2 separate regions of the Homo sapiens genome follow, and region 1 is linked to region 2. Evidence: promoter capture Hi-C in human tissues and cell types (Jung and others, 2019). All regions are on one chromosome and are shown on one strand. The core of a region is centred on a gene start or on the middle of the fragment in contact, and the rest is flanking DNA. Distances in the headings are between cores, read along the strand shown.

Region 1 (3,249 bases), core at 750-3,249, 180 kb after region 2:
AAAAAGGAATAGACACTGTCTAGAAATGCATTCAATCAATGGATGTTTATTGAACACTTACTATGTCCTGGGCCCCGAGCTCAGCAGTGGGGATGGGGTGAACAAGAGTGGCTGGCTTCATGTAGGAAAATAGGTGTTTCTCAAACTTGAATTACACCCGCATTACCATGGATGACCATTAAAACCCAAGTCCTCAGCTGGGCGCGGTGGCTCACGCCTGTAATCCCAGCACTTTGGGTGGCCGAGGTGGGCAGATCACCTGAGGTCAGTAGTTTGAGACCAGCCTCGTCAACATGGCGAAACCCCGTCTCTACTAAAAATACAAAAATTAGCCAGGTGTGGTGGCACATGCCTGTAATCCTAACTATTTGGGAAGCTGAGGCAGGAGAATTGCCTGAACCCAGGAAGTGGAGGTTGCAGTGAGCCGAGATCGCACCATTGCACTCCAGCCTAAGCAACAAGAGTGAAATTCTGTCTCAAAAAAAAAAAAAAAAAAAGAAAAGAAAACAAAAACCCAAGTCCTCAAGCCTCTGTTGATCCAGTGAGTCTATGGGGGCCCAGGAATCTGCACTGAAACAAGCATTTCCCCGGCTGGGCGCGGTGGATCATGCCTGTAATCCCAGCACTTTGGGAGGCCGAAGGCAGGCGGATCACGAGGTCAGGAGATTGAGACCATCCCGGCTAACACGGTGAAACCCCATCTCTACTAAAAATACAAAAAATTAGCCAGGCGTGGTGGCGGGCACCTGTAGTCCCAGCTACTTGGGAGGCTGAGGCAGGAGAATGGCATGAACCCAGGAGGCGGAGCTTGCAGTGAGCCAAGATCGTGCCACTGCACTCCAGCCTGGGTTACAGAGCAAGACTCTGTCTCAAAACAAAAAAAAAAAAAAAGAAACAAGCATTTCCCCTTCCCCTTCCCAGTGATGTAGCTGTAGGTGGTCTGGTGACCACACTTTGAAAAGCCCTGGTGGCAGGTCCTGGGTTCTAAGAACAGCCTGGAGTTTCAGGGATCCACGGAGGTAGAAAGAGGGAGGGAGGGAGGGTGTTGTCAAGAAGAGTTAGCCAGGATAGGAGGTGACAGGCAGGGTCTTCTCCTCATGGCCTGCCATGCCCTGAGAGGGGCTGGGGATCCACCAGGCTCTCTCTGCCTGCAGGTCCCCCCTGGCCCTTCACCATCACTTGGGGGCTTCCCTGGACCCTTCCCTGGGATCAGAGGGTCTTCCACAGAGGCCTCCCAGCACCCTGTTGATTCCCACCTTTCATTTCTCTCTGGGCCCCAAGGCACCTTCTCCTCAGTCTACAAAGGGTGGGCACTAATGGGAAAAGGTGGCAGAGACCCCAGACCACACTCCCCACTCTGTAGCCCCGACCCCCTGGTCTCAGAGGGCTTCCTGGAGTCAGTGTCTAGGCTGAAGAGGGAGGGCCTCAGAGGATGAGATTTGAGGAAGCAGGAATAGAGGTTGAGAGGGAAGGCGAAGGGAGGGAGACTGCCCCTCCTCCCCTCCAGCGCTTGGTGTTTGATGCTGGGGGTGCCGAGACATCTCCTCTCCCGGAAACTCAAGGCCAGACAGATAAACACAGATGGAGGGAGAGACTCGGCTGCTTTATTTATGGGCCCGGTGACAGGCCCTCTCCTGTCTCAGAGTCACTAATCTACCAGGCGGAAGAGACATCCCACTCCCTCGCCACCCTCTTCCCTCCCTCCTAAGACTGGGGCTCAGCCAGGCTCCAAGCCTCCCCTAGGTGGTCAGGCAGTGCCAGTTCCCATGGGCTAGAGGAGAGTGTCCAGAGGCTCAATAGACACCCTCTCTCTCTCTCCCCCAACAAAACAGGGTGTCCTTCCCCTTGAGAAGACTTCTTAAGTCAAGGCCTTTGAAGTCCCTGAAGAGACACCCTGGGCTGCCCCGACTTGGGTCTATCCAGAGCAGGGATTGATGGGGGACCCCATGATGTCCCTAAGGGGTCAGACCCAGAGCTGAAGGGTGCTGCCTCCTGATACTTCCTTCAAATTTACTTCCTCTAACAGCAATTAGCACTCAAATAAAGGGGTCTTTGGGGACCCATCTTAATTGCTCCATTTTCTCCACCTCCACCGTCTCCTTACCCATCCACACTTTCACAAACCTCCTCCTGCCACCCTCCAATGAAGGGTTAAATTTCACTGTGCCTGCTGGAGGGGCCACCAGGAATTGCCCCGCCTCCCATCAGCTGGGAAACATGGGCTCTCTGACTTCCCTGATTCCTTCAGTTCCCTCTCCCTGCCCTGTGTCTGTCTGCCAGCACCCCTTCATTCTGCCATCTTTACCTGGGTCTACCCCAAATCTCTGCATGGGGACAGAACTGAACTCAGCCTTACAGACAGAATGGGTTCCTTGGGCCCCAGGGTCAGAGGTCAGAGAGCACCAAAAGGGCAGAAAGCAGAGGGGGTCAGGGAGGGGGCAGATCCATACCTGTCGGTGGCTTTGAGGCCGGACACTCAGAGCCTTTAAAGCCCCAGAGATTCAGGGATTTGGCTCATGGGATCAGACTGCCCGGCTTCCTGACTCACAGTGGCCAGACCCAGACTGGGACCTGCTCAACTCGCCCCTCTCTTTTTCATTTAAGCGACTTTGGGTCATCCATGGGCCAGGGAGCCCATGTTTCCCCCTCCCATGGCCCCGCCCCATTGTTGGCACCTTATCTGAGCACACAACCCGAGCCTGGGGAAAAGGGGGTGATTTGCAATCCTGGCTCAGATTTACAGTGAAGTCCTAGGTGGTTTCTTCCTCCGGTGAATGGGCATAGTTTGGGGGTAAATGGCATTTACTAGCCTCTCCCCCAATCCCCTGCCAAATCAATTTCAGATTCTCCTCTAGAAAGCTTTCCCCCAATAACTCCACTCAGCCCCTTCCCTGTATCTTCTTCCCATTCTCCCAGCACTACCTCAATAATTCCATTCAGTTGCTGTCTGCCCTTGTTTCTGGTCTCTGCTGATGAATCAGGGATGTATTCTGTCTTCCCACTCAGGCTGAGACATCTCTGTGGTCAAGAACTACGCCTCCCCTATCTAACCACTGCTCCCTGACAGGGTCTCCTCTAGATCTGCTCCCTGCACTGAGCACAGGAAGCTGACTGCTGGCAGGGGAGGAGGTGGCAGAGGGGAGGTCCATCCACCTTTCCGCTCAGGAAAGATTTTCACAAGTAGACAGATCACCCAAAGGAAGTCAGGGAAACATGGAAGCATAAGGGAAAGAATTCCCATTCTTTTTG
Region 2 (3,394 bases), core at 895-3,394:
TAGATGTTCAAGAAATCTTTGCCGAATAAATATACAACGAGCAGGTACCAACCCTCAGGGCACCTTAGAATACAAGGATGGATGGGATATAATCTCTGCTCTCAGAACTGCCTGGTATGAGCAGCAGAACTAGAAATGGAGAATGCAATGAGATCAGGTCCAGATTGGGGGAGGGGGAGGATTTTAGGGCACCTAAACCAGGCCTAATGGACTTTTGCCACCAACCACCTAGAACCAAGGATAGAAGCATTTGGCTGCACCCTGCCAGGTGACTCAATTAGGCCCTGAGCATCCAAGCAGCAGCAGGGGGCTGATGACTCATCCCAGACAGTGTGTGCTTAGAGGGTCCTGGGACCCCTTTTTCCAGTGAGGGAGGGCTTGCCAGTTGGTCTTATGGGTCCTGTTTGTGGCCAAGTCCAAGGTCACCGAGGGTCCCAGAGACAACCCTACACCTCCTAGTCTAGCCTCCAATCTTTTGCCTGGTCCCTTGCTTCAGAAGAGATCTTGGGGAGTACTAGGGAAAGGAACATCTGCCTAGCCCTTGGGATTAGTGGGGTGACAGATGTCCCCACTGGTTTGCCTTCATATCTAGAGGGTAGATAGGTCATCCCACATGGTTCAGAGAAAGCTAGTGCCTCAGAGAACAAGTGGCTGACCTGCCTTCCTGTTCTGGACTACAAACGGGAGCCAGTGCTGGCAGGAAAGACTGAAAGGGAACCCAGCAGGAGGAGGAGGAAGGAAGCCACTGAGAATCCCCCCTTCTATGAAGAGAATGAGTCTAGAGCTCTGGCTGGCTCTCCTGGTAGAAGCTCACCTCTCAGTCCAATTTTCTCCCAGCAGTGAGGAAAGATGGCAGCTGCTGCTTTTCAAAGCTCAGAGAGAGCAAGAAACCTTTTCCTTCCATCCTCCCCCTCGGAGATTCCCACCCCCATCCCACCTCAGGAGCCAAAAAGGTAGGCTCAGGTTCCCAGCAGTCTTCGCAGCTAAGGCTGAATCTGCCAAAAGCCCCCGCCCAGCTTATCCCCTGCTTCCGGGCTTTGCCTCCCTGTCCACAGAGGATGCTCTTCAGCCAGAGTGCTCCAGGGTTCCCCTGATCATTCTCTACCTGCAGCTAGGCTGACCATGCCTCTGTCCACATTATTTAATCCACCAGGCAATACTCAAAATGACATCGTTAACACTTCCTGAGCATTCGCAGGCTGCTGTATTTAGTTCTGATCCCCATTCTTCCTCCATGAGAGTGCTTAGGTGGGGCATGATCTCCAGCTTAGAAAGGTTAAGGTAACTTGCCCAAGGTCACACAGCAGGAAAGTAGCAAAAAACTTGTTTCTCTTGCCCAGCAGTTTGGCAGGTGCTCAAATAATCTTTGTGCACAGGGTGACATCTGTTGTTTCTTCATTTCCCTGACCTGTGGGTACTTGAGGGTGGCCGGGGAGTGGTGTGTGGGGAGGGAGATGGCTGTCCTTCTTCATGAATGAATCTTTGACCTCCTTAGTTTACTCTCACTTCCAAAGAAGTTACAGCTTTAATCTCTCTGTACCCTATGTTCAATGTATTTATCGCAGCAATGCCCCTTTTACCAAGAGCAACGAAGAGCAGGTCTAATGATTTCCTTCTCAAAAGCGCAAAGACCAAAAAAAAAAAAAAAAAGCCAGATAAATAGCCCCACTTCCTCCCCAAATATACAGCCCATAACTAAACAACCAAAACAACCAAAGCATCAGCCGGGCCCCTGCACTGACCGCAGACGCCCCCAACACACGCCACCACGCCACACTGCGCCGGGAGGCGTCGGGGAGGGGGCGCCAGCGCGGGCCGCTGGCGCCGCAGGGAGCCGGTGGGCTCCGGGCGCGCTGCCAGGAAGGGCCGCACCGTAGGGGCCGCCGCCTCTCGCCACGTGGTGGTGGCAGCGGCGGGGTCCGGGGCGCCTTCCCAGCTGGAGAAACCCGGAGCAGCCGGGGAGGAGGAGGCGGAGGAGGCGGCGGCGGCGGAGGAGGAGCGGGGCGGACGGGAGGGAGGGGGTTGGGGGGAGGGGTGGGGGGTGGGGAGAGACCCGGCGGCGGCGACAGGGCGAGGAGCAGAGCGCGGTACCAGGGGGGTGGGGGCACTGGTGCCCGTTTGGGGAGGGAGCAGGCGGAGGGGGTAAGCTGCGATTACAAGCAGGAACCGGCAGCAGCTGTGAGTCCCCGGCTGGGGCTAGGGCTGGGGGAGGGGAGCGGCGCCCGGGCTGGGCCCCAGGGGTCGCGGGGTGGGCAGGAGGAGGCGGCAGGAGGGCGGCTGGCAGCCGCACGGGATGGCTGGGAGGGAAGGGGTCCGGTGTCGGCCGCCCTCATCCCCTCGCGTCCCCCTCCGCCGCCGTTCCTCAGGCCGCGCCACTCCCGGAGCCCCTTCCCCGGCCCCGAGAGGGTGTCCGGGGGCCCAGGGCTCGGCCGGTTGTGGGGGAGGGGGCTGCGTGGTCTCGGCCCCCGAGAGGGGAGGGGCGACAATTTCTGTCGGCCGAGCGAAAGGGGTTTAAAGGGCGGCTCTTAAAGGGGCCGCAGGAGGGGCCCGGGCCGACAGAGGCACTCACCCCTTCCCCAGCCGCCTTCCATTGCGCTCACCCGGGCGCTGGGCCCAGAGAGGAATGCGGAGGAAGGAGGCATTTGTGGTGCGGCCTCGGGGACAGAGCCCCGCCAGCGGGGTGGGCGCAGAGGGGCGGGCGGGGGTCTGGGGGGGTGTGGTAAGCGCTGGCGCGCGGAGCTGGGGGGAGGGGATGGCGTGGGAAGGAGAGGGTTAAAGGTGGGGCCGGCCCTACAAACGCGCGCACACACTCCTTACTCAGACCCAGTCACTCGCGTTTCCCTGGCACTTAGATGGGCCTGTGGGTGGCGGAGGGGGGGGGGTGGATTGAATTGGAGCCTGCGCCGGAGCCCTTTGCACCCCAAGCTCCTGCAGCCCGACCTGGGGGCCCCGCTGTCTGAACTCACAGCTCCCTGCCGAGCCCCCTCTCCGGGGTGCACATAACGCTCCAGCGCGCGCACACACCTCGGACAGTCCCCTCGCGTCTCACGTGACACGCGGCCCGGACGTGCCACCCTGCCCACGCGCTCACGCACGCGTGCACACACCAGCCTCCTGGTCGCTGCCCCACTCCGTCCCGACGCCCCTGCGACCCCGAAGGCACTCATTGACTGACACACCTACACTCATTCACAGACGCACACTCCCCCCATACGCCAACCCCAGACACACATTCATAACCAGGCCCGAGAGAAGTACACACGCACCCCCTCACTGCCTACTCCTGCTTTCGGGAGCCTGAGTCATTCCTGCCCCCTCGTAGGGTTCCCCATTTCCCGGTGCGCGGGCACCCTGAGACAGCCTTGGGAATTCGTTCGCGTCCCCTTCCACCTGG

The links. Contacts are between HindIII fragments. The study calls those that stand out against the background at their distance.
Region 1: a contact is called between a fragment that was not itself captured here and the fragment with the promoter of TBKBP1 in region 2, in 1 of the 25 tissues and cell types used here (IMR-90 fibroblasts).

What each region holds. Positions count from the first base shown.
Region 1 is chr17:47,876,204-47,879,452 of GRCh38, forward strand. It overlaps a transcript of SP6 not described here. Among named protein-coding and RNA genes, the nearest start is that of SP2-DT, 18 kb to the right of the region's middle. RefSeq lists a cis regulatory region at 1,305-1,882. The HindIII fragment of the contact is 3,905 bases long and covers 48-3,249 here.
Region 2 is chr17:47,692,017-47,695,410 of GRCh38, forward strand. It overlaps TBKBP1 (TBK1 binding protein 1), which reads left to right and starts at 2,145. Exons shown (of 10, transcript NM_001394755.1): 1 at 2,145-2,178. RefSeq lists enhancers at 1,900-2,580, 2,581-3,260, 3,261-3,394 and silencers at 2,364-2,493, 2,744-2,803. The HindIII fragment of the contact is 16,798 bases long and covers 1-3,394 here.